Linked DNA regions of Homo sapiens: region 2 is linked to region 1. The links are contacts of gene promoters, found by promoter capture Hi-C in blood cells and fetal thymus (Javierre and others, 2016). All regions are on one chromosome and are shown on one strand. Each heading gives the region's core, a stretch centred on a gene start or on the middle of the fragment in contact. The rest is flanking DNA. Distances are from core to core; before and after follow the strand shown. Region 1 holds the start of SQOR (sulfide quinone oxidoreductase). Region 2 has its middle 8.7 kb from the start of SECISBP2L.

Region 1 (7,001 bases), core at 1-2,500:
TACAGTCTGCGTTTGTATTGTATTGTTCATGATGATTTTGCCATAGATACAGTCAGTCTCTTTGATTAAAGATAGAAAGTATCAGTTGAAAACATTTAAAAAAATAATATTCAAGGCTGGGCATGGTGGCTCACGCCTGTAATCCCAGCACTTTGGGAGGCCCAGGAGGGCAGATCGCTTGAGGCCAGGAGTTTGAGACCAGCTTGGCCAACATGGTGAAACCTCATCTCTACTGAAACATACAAAAATTAGCCGGGCATGGTGGCACACACCTGTAGTCCCAGCTACTCAGGAGGCTGAGACACCAGAATTGGTTGAACCCATGAGGCAGATGTTGCAGTGAGCCGAGATTGCTCTACTCACTGCGCTCCAGCCTGGGCAACACAGTGAGACTCTGTTTCAAAAAACAACAACAACAACTATATATATATATATATATATATATATTCAAAATTCATAAAACCAAATAAGTGTAAAAGAAACTCAAACTTTCAAGGGTTTATTTTTGTTTGTTTTTTTGAAAGCTTCTAGCACTTGCACTTCTCAGGTTATGAGACTTTTGGGACACCCTGTATTTATTGTAAAAAGGGTTACTGAATCTGATATGGTGGAGAACCACTCACTGAGACTTTACATCAACCTGGAAAGAGCCGCCAACTGAAAATGTCCAGTCATGAATATGGGATGGGACACTGTGGAGGCCAGTGGCTGGAAGCCAGCTTACCCCTGCCTGCGCGTTTTGAAGGAAGGGCTCCAGCGCACACCAAAGCTGAACCTCGGTCACCTTCTCTGTGAAATGAGCGCGGGAATACCTGTGTTTCTGGGCAGCTGTGTGAACCCGGTGAGAAGCCCAGGGCACATAGGAGGACCCAGTGGGAACAGCCAGAGCCTCTCTGCACAGCGCCCCGCCTCCGCTTTTGCCTGCCCTGATTACAAAACGCTGTTGGCACCCAGGGGCGGAAGCGTCAGGTGGCCTCGGTGTCCTCCGCCTGTGCGCCCCAGCCTGCGGGGCCGCCCTTCAGGGCGCGCAAGGGGCGAGTCTGTCCAGCCGGCAGCACCCCAGGCCGGATGGACGCTTGTTCCTGGTTCTGTGCCCCGTGAGCGCTCAACGCCCTGGTGTGTTCACTGACCATGGTGCCTGGGCTGCGGCGCCGGGCGGGGCACGGCGGGACTTTTCGGGACCTTTCCTGGGGGGAGCCTCGCTTTCCCCGCCTCCAGCCTCCGCCCGGATGGCAGGCGGGCGGGGCCCCAGTCCAGGCCTTGAGACCCAGAAGGGAGCGAAGGTTTTTGCTGCGCCAACGCAGTGACCGAAGGCTCCGCTCACGCCCGGGTAAGAGGCATCCGCGGCCGATCTTTGGCCCTGGGCCAGCGGAGGGAGACTGGGCGGGGACAGCGACCACCACTGAGGCTGTTTGTTAGCTTAACTCGGTTTCCGCAGCTGGGACTCCGCAGACCCGGTGCGCCGCGCCCCAAACTTTGCTTCCTCAACTCCGGACACCTGCAGCTCTTGCTGCCCTTGTCTGGAACCCGGGTCTTGGGACTCTTGCTTCCTTCTCAGAGTGTCAGAGCCTCAGGGCCGCGGAGAGGCCAACCCGCGAGGGGTGCTTAAAAACCGAAGTATCCGTGGTCTTGGTGTGTGGACGTTTCTGGCGCCTTCCACCTGTTGACTGTCACTCGGCACCGTCCTGGAGCGGGAGTGGGTGCTCGGCGTCCGGGGGCCAGGGATTGACACAGTCATCCACCGACACTGCGCGTGGGACAGAGGGGGCGCTCGAGGGGTCGGCTGCAGCTGAAACCTGAAGGGGAGAGGATTTAGGGCACCTGCTGAACAGGAATTGGTGGAAAGGGAGAAGGGGTCTTCTGGTGGAATCTGGGCTCATTTCCTTTCCTCTTCATCTGTCTCTTTTATTTATCAAAATTCCAACCTGGCTTTTTGCTCAAAGACGCTGAACAGAGCCCCTGGCTTTGCCTGCGCTGCCCATTGCTATAATGCAGGGCTCTGTTCCATTTTTGTGCTGTGCACCCCTTTGGCATTTCTGGGAAGGCTAAAGACTCTCAGAACAATACTTTTTTTTGAGACAGAGTCTTGCTCTGTCGCCCAAGCTGGAGTGCAGTGGCGCGATCTCGGCTCACTGCCACCTCCACCTCCCGGGTTCAAGCGATTCTCCTGCCTCAGCCTGCCGAGTAACTGGGATTACAGGCGCAGCACACCTGGCTAATTTTAGTATTTGTAGTAGAGGCGGGTTTCACCATGTTGCCCAGCTGGTCTCGAACTCCTGGCCTCAAATGATCCGCACACTTCGGCCTTCCAAAGTGCTGGGATTACACGAGTGAGCCACCGCGCTGGACCAGAACAATGCTTTTTTAAAGGTATAAAACAAAAGGAAGAGTATTATAAAGGAAACCAATTGCAAAACACATGTCAAAACATTAAAAGAATTTATGATATGGTAATATATATGTCTTTAAAAAACGAATGCGTTATTTAATAACAAGGTTATTAAATAACAAGATCTAGCAGTGGATTAAATAGTTACCATAATTTTGAAGTAGTAAAGAACATAAACAATTATTTCAAGATATAGGTAATACTTGTAATATAAGAAAATATCTGTAATTTCTTTCTTCTTTTTTTTTTTTTTTTGAGACGGAGTCTCACTCTGTCACCAGGCTGGAGTGCAGTGGCGCGATCTCGGTTCAATGCAACCTCCGCCTGCTGGGTTCAAGTGATTCTCCTGCCTCAGCCTCCCGAGTAGATGGGACTACAGGTGTGTGCCACCACACCCAGCTAATTTTTGTATTTTTAGTAGAGACAGGATTTCACCATATTGTCCAGGATGGTCTCGATCTCTTGACCTTGTGATACGCCCACCTTGGACTCCCAAAGTTCTGGGATTACAGGCATGAGCCACTGCGCACGGCCAATATCTGTGATTTCTATTGGTGACAAAGTCTTAGTATTGCCAATACTGCTGTGGTTTGTTGGCTACATACATAATTGAAGTAAATGTTAAATTTCAGTTAGATACTAGAGAAATAAAAGATGTAAATATTAAATATCCGTAAAAATAAAGATGTAAAATACTTTTCCATCTAAGTTTTTGGGTCCAGGTTAAGATCCTCTGATAGTAGAAAGGGCACTGACCCAATGACTTGGCTTCTGGGCTTGACACTTCCATTGACATTTCCAAGGCCCATTGTAACCTTGGCTTTTTTTTTTTTTTGAGACATGGTCTTGCTGTGTCGCCTAAGCTGGAGTACAGTGAGGTGATCTCTGCTCACTGCAACCTCCTCGCAGGTTCGAGTGATTCGCCTGCCTCAGCATCCCTAGTAGCTGGGATTACACCAGCCACCCACCACCACACCTGGCTAATTTTTGTATTTTTTGGTAGAGACAGGGTTTCACCATATTGGCTAGGCTGGTCTTGAACTGCTGACCTCAAGTGATCTGCCCTTGTCTGCTTCCCAAAGCAACCACCACACCCAGCTTAACTTTGGCTTTTGAATTTCTTTTCGCCTCAGCTTCTTCATTGTACAGTGGAGATAATAACACCTTCCCAAGTATTTAAGGCACCCAGCACTGCACTTAGTGTAGAGGGCTGAAGTAGATACCATTTATCAGAACTTATTTGTATCCCTCCCAAGCTTATGGCCTTATATCCCCAAGCCTGGGGAGGTACTCATTATTTATTGAATGAATAAGTGGGTCAGAAAGGGTTGCTTGTGACTAAGTCCAAAAAACAAAATTCATTAAGGAGACAGCTGGTGGTTTGGGAAATGACTTTGTTTAAATTTGGGGCTTTTTTTCTGGCTGGAAAAATATATAAACACATTTGGAACGGGGGTGTTTGAAATGTCAGTCAGGGCCCAGGGTCTGTGTGTGCGTGTCTGTGTGGCTGGTGTTCTGCCAGTGAAAATGAAACTGAATGTTGAAAGGAAACCGGATTCCTTTGCAGAACAGTTTCTCCTCCATGTTGCCTGTGTCTAGCTTTGTTAATCCGATGTGTTGTAACACAGGAAATGTCTTATAAAGAATGGAGACGGACCCATGACAAGGCATTTCTGGGCATAGATGTACTTTTTTCTTCTCCTTTCACGTTTCCCTGCTCCACTATCTACTATATAACTCCTCTTTGACTCTGAAGACTTGGTAAATAGGAGCAGTTTGGATAGCTTATGGAAAGCTGCCCAGACCTGGCTGGAAGCCAACTAGTTGCTTCTTAATCCCAGCCTTAAAAATCTTTGTAATCCCCAGATGTAGGTGGTAATAATAATAAAGAAAAGTAGATCTAGCCAACCATCCCTGTGATTTACATTGAGAAAGTGCTAAATTGGGACAGGAGGTAGAGAACTTTGTGGAAAAAAACAAAACAGAACAAAAAAACCCTCGGAAATTTAGAACACACTGGGACTATCTATGTCTGTAACTTTGGGAAGGGCAAATACTGGTGTTATGGACTCACCAAATTCATATATTGAAACCCTAGCCCCCAGGATCTTAGAATGTGACTGTATTAGGAGATAGTGCCTTAGTTAGAAGTGGTGGTGAGCACCTGTAGCCCCAGCTACTTGGGAGGCTGAGGTGGGAGAACTGCTTGAGCTCAGAAGTTCGAGGCTAGCCTGAGCAACATAGCAAGACCTTGTCTCAATAAAAGAATAATTAGCCAGGCACGGTGGCTCACGCCTGTAATCCCAGCACTTTGGGAGGCCGAGGTAAGCAGATCGCTTGAGGCTGGGAGTTTGAGGCCAGCCTGGCCAACATAGAGGAACCCCGTCTCTACTAAAAATTCAAAATATTAGCTGGGTGGGGTAGTGTGCACCTGTAATTCCAACTACTCAGGGGGCTGAGGCATGAGACTTGCTTGAACCGGAGAGGAGGAAGTTGCATTGAGCCAAGATTATCATGCCACTGCATTCTAGCCTGCGCAACAGAGCAAGACTCTGTCTCAAAAAAAGAAAGAAAGAAAAAAAAAAAAGGAAAATTAAGTTAGGTCATTAAGGTGGAGCCCTAATCCAATATGAATAGTATCCTTATAAGAAGATGACTCGTCAGGAGCACATGTGCACAGAGAAAAGGCCACGCAAAGGCACACTGAGAAGGTGGCCATCTGCAAACCAGGGAGAGAGATCCCAGGAGAAACCAGTCTCATCAGCACTGAGGTCTTGGACTTTCAATCTCCAGAACTTTGAGAAAATAAATTTCTGTTCTCTAGACTTCATCTAGTCTATAGTGTTTTGTTATGGCAGCCCTAGAAAATTAATACAACTGGTTCTACCAAATGGACAATAGGTTTAAAAAAAATGGCTACAACTAGGCACCATCTCTTTTAAGTCATGATCCCGACATGTCCATCACTTGCTCTTAGGATCTCTTACCCAACCTATGCAGAAGAGTCTCCCATGTACTTTCCTTCTACAGACACCCTGTGTGGTCCCTAGGATCTTGCCTGAAGTTGTTAAAGCCATATTCAGCTTCATGATTTTGACTGTTAGGAAAAGAAAAACTTGGCCTCTTCAGCAAGTGACCTAGGTTAGCTGTTGTGCCATGTACATAGTAAGTACTTTGTAAATGTATGGTGGGTGATGGGTGATGATGTTATGATCATCCTTAAATACCATGGGGTGACTCCCTTCTGATCATAATGAATCTCCATGTTTTGGCCCTAGCCCAGCCCTCAGGGAACTTTCATGCCACCTAGCTGGGAACCAGCAGCTCTGGCCCTAGCTACATGAATGGAGAGAAAATGGCTATGTCTGTATCCTGGTACCAATTCCTGACTTCTGGGAGGGAGGGCTGCTTCTGGAAGTGGGGATTGTGGTGATTTCACTCTATGATAACTTTCTTATATCTTTGGCTATTTGTTCTAAGGTAGCCCATGATGTCTCCATAGGAAAATGATGTGTTTTAACAACCACCATGTTTGGAGTATAGATTGTGAGAGCTCTTCAAGACAGTGCTGGGTCTAGTAAATGTGGTTTTGTGTTTCTGTGAGCACATAAATGATGCTTGAGATGGATGAGGGGCCATCTGAGTTTGGAGGAAAATCATGAGCCTTTCAAGGTCTAGGTGATCAAATCTAAGCTTGTTTTGAATCATTGAGTAAGAAAGGTCTTTAATGGCAACTAGACACCTCCACTTATTTTACACTCAGGGAAATGGACTCAAAATGGTAAATGACTATCTCATGGTCTTACAATCTCCATTTCCTCACTTATAAAATGGGAATAATAATTCCCACCTCTCTGGTTTTTGTGAGTAATTACGTAAAGTGCATAGCACAATGCCTGTCACATATCAACACTTCCACAAATGATTTGGGGACTTGCGGGGAGAGATTGAGAGGAATGGTTTCCATTCTAATTATGTTCCAGACCTGCTTATTAAAGCCTTGTTATTCTTTGCCACAAAAATTCACATCTCTGATCAATCTAAGGAGTTATTAGAACAAGCGTCCCCATTTGAAAGCCTGCTTGTGAACTTCCATTTTCCTTTTCTCATTTAGAGGATAGCAAAGTTTTAGAGAAGCAGGGGACCTTTGATGCCACCCAATCTGATCCTTTATTCCATTGATGAAGAAAGCATGGCCCAAAATGGGTCAGGAAGAGCTGTACCTAGCACTCCCTGGACTGTGGTCCTGGGTCTCTTGACTCTTGATATGCCCTCAGACAAAGCTTCACCAGGAACGGGTCATTGTCATCTAGCTGGACACAGAAGAGACGTGAGCTGTCTACACCTCATTCTGTCTCAACTATTAAAGGATTGAGTTTAGAGTCTCTCCAACTATGTCCAAATAGCAAATGTATACCTTGAAATTAAAGAGTGTTTTCTCATTATGGTAAGACCTCACACACTGGATTCCAAGGAATGATATACTTGAATGAAATGGCCAGTCCCGTTTACAGTGAACTCCTTGCATGTGAGACTCTGAGTGGAAATCCCAATGCTCCTGAGGCTGATGAGTAATTTTAATGTGGTCATTTAACAAACTCAGGAAAACAAG
Region 2 (7,001 bases), core at 2,895-5,394, 3.4 Mb after region 1:
GTACCCCAGTGGGGACTCTGTGTGGGGGTGCCCGCCCCACATTTCCCTTCCACACTGCCCTAGCAGAGGTTCTCCATGAGTGCCCCACCCCTGCAGCAAACTTCTGCCTGGACATCCAGGCATTTCCATACATCCTCTGAAATCTAGGCAGAGATTCCCAAACTCAATTCTTGACTCCTGTTCACCCACAGGCTCAATACCACATGGAAGCTGCCAAATCTTGGGGCTTACACCCTCTGAAGCCATGGCTCGAGCTGTACCTTGGTCCCTTTTAGCCATGGCTGGAGCGGCTGGGATGCAGGGCACAAAGTCCCTAGGAGGAAGAAATGGATTACCTTAGATGGTTGACCACTGAAGAGGTGATATCTGATGTGAGATTTGAGAAATACAAAAAGATAGAGAAAAGACAAGCAAAGGCCTCAGGAGGGGAAACTCTTAAATTGTGGAAACAGAAAGGAGAGACCAGTGTGAATAGTGAATGGTAGGAGGGGGAGAGTAGTATGGACAATAGATAGAATGGAAGACTAGACCAGGCCAGATTTTGTACTAATTTGCAAGCCATGGTAAAGAATTTGGATTTAACTTTAAGTCAAAAAGCCATTTGGAGAATTTTAAAGAAGTGCATTGAATTCACATTTTGTCTGAATGCTGAATAGCAAAATGTTAAAATTAATACTTCTGGGATATAAAAACACATCTAAATGACTATTGAAAAACTGGATTATTATTACAATTTTATTATTAAAAGGTTTAGTAGTGTTCAAAGAGAAACTGTAGACAAATTAAATTTAAGAATTTAATTAAGCAAAGAATGATCTGCCAATTGAGCAGGTCCCCAGAACCAGAATAAGCTCAGAGAGACTCTGGGGTTCCCACATGATCCAATCATACTTATAGAAAGTGAGGTACAGAAAATGGAAGCGGGGTACAGAAACAGCTGGATTGGTTACAGCTTGGTACTTGTCTTATTTGAATACAGTTTGAACAGTTGCCCACCTATGATTGGCTGAAACTGCGTGATTAGTACAAGAGTAAGTTAAAGTCTGTTTACACATCCAGTTAGGTGACAGTTTACTATATGTGTAAGGAGGCAGCTTTAACTTAATTTAACAGTTCACCCTTTTGGTGACCCTCTCAGTATAGACAAAACTGATCTGTTTTGGGATCGATCTGCTTCCATAATGTTTCACTTTAATTACGTAGCATTTAGCATGAGTGACTCCATGTTGGTTTGGTCTGGTCTGTTGGGGCCTACTGCAGGAGCTCTGTCTAGAACACTGGTTTCCCATAATTTTGACTAATAATTTCCCCCTTTCGCTCAAGTTCTCACCTAAGTGAGTGTAACCAAAATTTAGGGTTTAGCACTACTCCCAGTTGCCATCATTTTGGATTTCTAGTCACAGCACATCATTCATAGGTTACAGCGTCTTCATGATCACTCATTTCTTTGAGGTTTTTGTCATACCAACAAAAGGGAGATCATTTGACATTCTACAGATGGCTATATGCAAGCATTTATAATTTTGGAGAAAATACAGTGCACCAGGGATACTACTCTTATGGTTATCAGAAGGATAATACCAAGAGTTGGGAGTATGCTCCCTGGCCAGGGTCCTCATGAACTAAGCCAACTAAAATCAAATAGATCTACGAATGAGCCTGATAAAGAATCTTGTTTTAACCAACCAGCCTGTTTGTTAATCCCGTGAAAGTGAGTCTTTATAAAACCTGATGTATTCATACAACAAGAAGTGTCAGGAACTGCACAGATCCTTCCCTGTTCAGTCAAAAATAATCTAGAGTAATTCAGTCATCTAGCACAACTTTAGCAAGAAAATTTTTAAAAGTTTGTTGTGCAACCATAGCCTTTGCAGTAAAATCTTCTATAAAGTCTACTACAAGGAACACATTTCTAATCATTGTCTGATTTATATTTCCCGCATGCCACAGAAAAGAAGACCTAACAATGATGCCCATCCAGAAAGGTGAAGTCCTCCTGGCAATGTTCTCTTTAACCTATGATGTATGCTAAGAGTGGACCAAGGTTGTTTTTGACTGTTAGTGGAGCAACAAAGGTACCTTTAAAATTCCTAGTCCAGCTGGCCACGGTGGCTCATGCCTGTAATCCCAGCACCTGGGGAGGCCAAGGCATGAGGATCACTTGAGCCAAGTAGTTGAAGATCAACCTGGGCAACATAGTGAGACCTCACCTCTACAAAAAAATAAATAAATGAAAAAAATTTAAAAAAAATAGCCAGGTGTACTTATGCGTGCCTGTAGTCCCAGGTACTCAGGAGGCTGAGGTGGGAAGATTGCTTGAGCCTGGGAGGTCAAGGCTGCAGTAAGCTATGATTACATCACTCCACTCCAGCATGGATGACAGACTGAGACCCTGTCTCTAAAAAAAAAAAAATCCCTAGCCACAGTGGCCCCTCATCTTCCATTTTTTAAGGCAGGCGTTCCCAATCCCCGGACCATGAACTTGTACCAGCTAGGGGCCTGTTAGAAACTGGGTCGCACAGCAGGAAGTGAGCAGTGGGTGAGCAGGCATTACTGCCTGAGCTCCGCCTCCTATCAGGTCAGTGGCAGCATTAGATTCTCACAGGAATGAGAACTGCACTGTGAACTGTGCATGCGAAGGATCTAGGTTGCACACTCCTTATGAGAACTGAATGCCCAATAATCTGGGGTGGAGCAGTTTCATTCCAAAACCATCACCACTACCACCCAACACCCCCAGTCCATGGAAAAATTGTCTTCCACAAAACCAGTCCCTGGTGCCAAAAAGGTTGGGGACCACTGCATTAAAGCATAAGGTTTCCCCTGTATAGGGTTAGCTGTAAAATCCTCCACACATAAAAGTATACCCTATGGGTACACCCAAAGCACCTTTTCCAGTTCTATTGTTCATAGAGGCATAAGCAAGAAGATGTAAGCGTCACAGGATGGCAGGTCCTTGATCCATGATCTTGAGAAACTTGTTCATGTCTAGGATTCTGTCTGCTTCCAGGGAGAAAATTCCCAGTTAACTTTACCTTAAGGTCTCCAATAGGTATACAGTAGCAGTCCCCAACCTTTTTGGCACCAGGGACTGGTTTTGTGGAAGACAATTTTTCCATGAACCTGGGGGTGGGGGATGATTTTGGGATAATTCAAGTGCATTACATTTATTGTGTACTTTATTTCTGTTATTATTACATTGTAATATATAATGAAATAATTACACAACTCACCATAACATAGAATCAGTGGGAGCCTTGAGCTTGTTTTCCTGCAACTAAACCAGGGGTCCCCAACCCCAGGCTGTGGACAGGTACAGTCTGTGGTCTGTTAGGAACCAGGCTGCACAGCAGGAGGTGAGCAGCAGACATGCAAGCTCAGATTAGTAACAGCATTAGATTCTCATAGCAGAGCGAACCTTATTGTGAACTGCCCACGGGAGGGATCTAGGTTGTACGCTCCTTATGACAATCTAATGCCTGGTGATCTGAGGTGGAACAGTTTCATCTCAAAACCATCTGCCCCTTCCTCTCCTCCCCATCCATGGAAAAATTGTCTTCCATGAAACGAGTCCCTGATGCCCAAAAGGTTGGGGACCATTGAACTAGACAGTTCCATCTGGGGATGATGGGAGACAGTAACAGATCATCAGGCATTAGATTCTCATAAGGAGCGTGCAACCTAGATCCCTTGTGTGCACAGTTCACAATAGGGTTCACGCTCCTATGAGAATCTAATGCTGCTGCTGATCTGACAGGAGGTGGAGCTCAAGTGGTAATGCCAGAGATGGGGAGCAGCTGTAAATACAGATGAAGCTTCACTTGCTTGCCCACTGCTCACCTCCTGCTGTACAGCCTGGTTCCTAACAGCCCATGGACAAGTACCTGTTAGGGGGACCCTGGTATACAGTCCTGAGTCTGAAAGGGCTGTTTAGAGTTATGAGACTATGGATACAAGGTTTGCGGTCCCAAAGTTTTGCTGCAGTGTGTGTGGCAAGGGCAGTCTTTCTCTTCACTTCCAGAAGACCCAATATCTTGGTTCTATATCATCAATGTTTTAATTATCCTGAGTCAATGGGTCATTAAAATTTCCTTTGCCTGACTAAAATACACTTTGGCATAATGCATTAAAGCCTTGCGGCAATTAGTCATATCAGAGTACAGGAATGGAAGAGATATAATGTTCTATTATTAGGAGGATAGGCCTTCCAGTGACTGTTTCATAAGGGGTCAACTTATGTTTTCCTCTGGAAGTGGATCTGATTGCCATCAATCTTCAATACTTTGGATCAAGGCAATCCAGTCGATTCATTTAGCTTTGCCTAATGCTATAATACTTTATTTAACTTTTCTACAACCTGTCCAGTGAAACAAGTACCTCCATCACTGGAGATTTCTTCAGAATTCCCCATGAGGGAAACACATTTTAAAATAACCTTTTAGCTACTGTTATAGCATTGGCCTTCTTGCATGGGAAAGCTTCTATACAATCAGAAAATGTGCGTAGAATGGCAAGTGAATGAAATGCCCTCATAAATGTTCAAAAGGCTCATCATGTAGCAGAAATGTACCCCAAATTTTGATATTTTCCCTTAATTATGGATTTGACAAACTAAACATTGATCATAAGCCATTTTAGCAGTTTAGAATAGTCACCACACACACACACACACACACACACACACACACACACATAATTTAAATCATTTTACCTCTTTCCTAATAAGTCATAGGGTATACAGCTTTTAATAATGGAAGCTATAAGGACTCAGGAAGGGCCAGGCAGCCATCCAGGCTCTCCATGAGTCCACACTTAACATTGGATTTTTATCATTCTTAAATAGCGATTTTGTTGCACAGCACTGTTTGTTAAATCTGTTATCATAGGTAATTTGCCTTGGGCCATGGAGTTCATTTAAGTTGAATTTCTTAACAATTTCAGTACTGGCTCATTTTGCATAACATTTGGCAAAATTTTTTCTTGATATTCAATCAATTCTTGTCCTGCTTGGTTTAGCAGTTTTATGAATCAGTCAGTCTCTTCATGAGAGTTCTAGGAATTCCTACCCAGTCCAAATTATATGATCCTAAAGTTATCAGAACCGTGTATTCAAGAGTGCTTCTCAGGGTCCTTTCCATCCTTTCCATGAGCCTCCTTGAAGGCACAATACTCTAGGATTTTAGTTGCTTATAAATAGCTTTCAGAAAATGCACCAGAATTAAGCAATTAACTGGAAGCAAGACTTAAAATGGTCACGGTTAAAGACACAATTGACAAGGAAATTTGGTTATTTCTGTGACCTACAATAATTAAACATACTAACTATAACTATGACTGATAACATATACCAAGACATATCAGAATTTTAGGAGTCTCATACAATTTTAGAACATATATTAATAACATATCCTTAAAAATATAACATGAGAAGGTTAAACATCATTTCTTATTTGGCAGTAGTCAAACTTCAGAAGCTTAAATAATGCAGGAACAATTTCTTAGCATTACTAGTGTTCCTACAGTCATGATACTGCACATTGCAATTTTAAATATTAAAGTCCACTATTAACCAAAGTCAGATGAGGAACAAGATTATTTTTGGCTAGCTCTGCTAGTATAGGATACTTCTGATAGTGATGTCATCATCTGTTATTAAGCTTCCCTTCCTTTCTAATAGAAACTAAGTTTTATCCGCTTTTCTGCTGCTGGACTTGAAGATTTGGTCAATGGACATGATTCCATTTCATTGAAGCCCCCTAGAAACTGAAGTTTGTGCTGTGCTTGAAGAAGATGCTTTGTGGATATTTTCAGATGCACACCTAAGATTGTTATTCTCATTTAAAATTTTAATTTCTAATATGCGTTTATTTCTGCATGCCTTTTATTATTAATTACATTGTATGAATATTAGTGGTTCAAAAGGATGTAATTTTCTTTCTAAATTTATGTAGCCCATCTTTTGTATAATTGTATTAATTTTCAATTATTTTCTTACCTAACTACTTGAAAGTTCTACATTTTTGCATAAAATTAACAATTTTCACAATTACCTTTATTACTGAAGTTTATATTAAACAATTAATAGAATTTCAACAGAGGAAATACATCCAAAATGCTTACCTATATTTGAAAGTGCATATCCATATATTAACACTAACTCTGACTAACATACTTTGCTCTTATAATTTACATAGTTATGCTGATTAGATATAATGGTTACCCAGTAAGATCACATGATGGGGAGGCCATACCCAGTTTAGACTTGCCAGAAGGTGAAATAGAAATTTGACAATATGACCTTCCAAAGGCCAATGCTAAAGGTGAAATTGAAAAGCAAATTTTGGCCAATGCTGAGGCCAGGGCACAGCTGAACTGGAGTATGTATCTCTCATTATTTGCAGGAAAGTAACATGATCTAATGGCAAGAGGGTGGTTAGGGTGACAGAACAGACCATGGAATCAAACCTGAGTAAAGATAGTATGAATCAAAATTACTAGAGATAATATCTTTATGTTTTCAGCATATAAGATGAATCCACCAAAATTCCTAAAAACTAGTGGCAAACTCATAAGAAAAAAGATTCCATTGATAATATAAGTGTTATGATGGAAAGAGCACTACTAGACTAAGACTTGATAACTTGGGTTTAAATTTTATCTATACCCATTTCAGGCCATGTGCCCTCAAAAGTCGCTTAAGCTTCCCTGGGCCTCAGTTTCCTCATCTGCACAATGCATGGGATTGTTGAGGGGTTCGAGTTGAGGTAACGAATGCAAGAACACATTGCAAGCCCTAGAGGAGTGGTTCTCAATCTGTGGCACTCTTAAAGCTAGAATATTCAGTCCCCTCTTAGACCGATTAAGTCAGAATCTCTGGAGCAGATAATCTCCCAATCAGCCATAGTCAGCCATAAAATTTTAAGTCAGATCATGTCACTCCTCTCTTCCAAGGAGCTCCAGTGGAGCTTCCCATCTCAGAGTAAAAGCCCAAGTCCTTAGAG

What was found. Contacts are between HindIII fragments. The CHiCAGO score rates a contact against its expected background, and 5 or more counts as called.
Region 2: a fragment that was not itself captured here is called in contact with the fragment with the promoter of SQOR in region 1 in 1 of 17 cell types (M0 macrophages); the score reaches 6.1 in M0 macrophages.

What each region holds. Positions count from the first base shown.
Region 1 is chr15:45,633,779-45,640,779 of GRCh38, forward strand. SQOR (sulfide quinone oxidoreductase) reads left to right here and starts at 1,251. Exons shown (of 10, transcript NM_021199.4): 1 at 1,251-1,330. RefSeq lists enhancers at 395-1,390, 1,853-1,942, 1,973-2,022, 3,852-3,931, 3,962-4,021 and a silencer at 1,203-1,372. The HindIII fragment of the contact is 3,121 bases long and covers 523-3,643 here.
Region 2 is chr15:49,051,657-49,058,657 of GRCh38, forward strand. No RefSeq gene overlaps it. Among named protein-coding and RNA genes, the nearest start is that of SECISBP2L, 8.7 kb to the left of the region's middle. The HindIII fragment of the contact is 663 bases long and covers 3,814-4,476 here.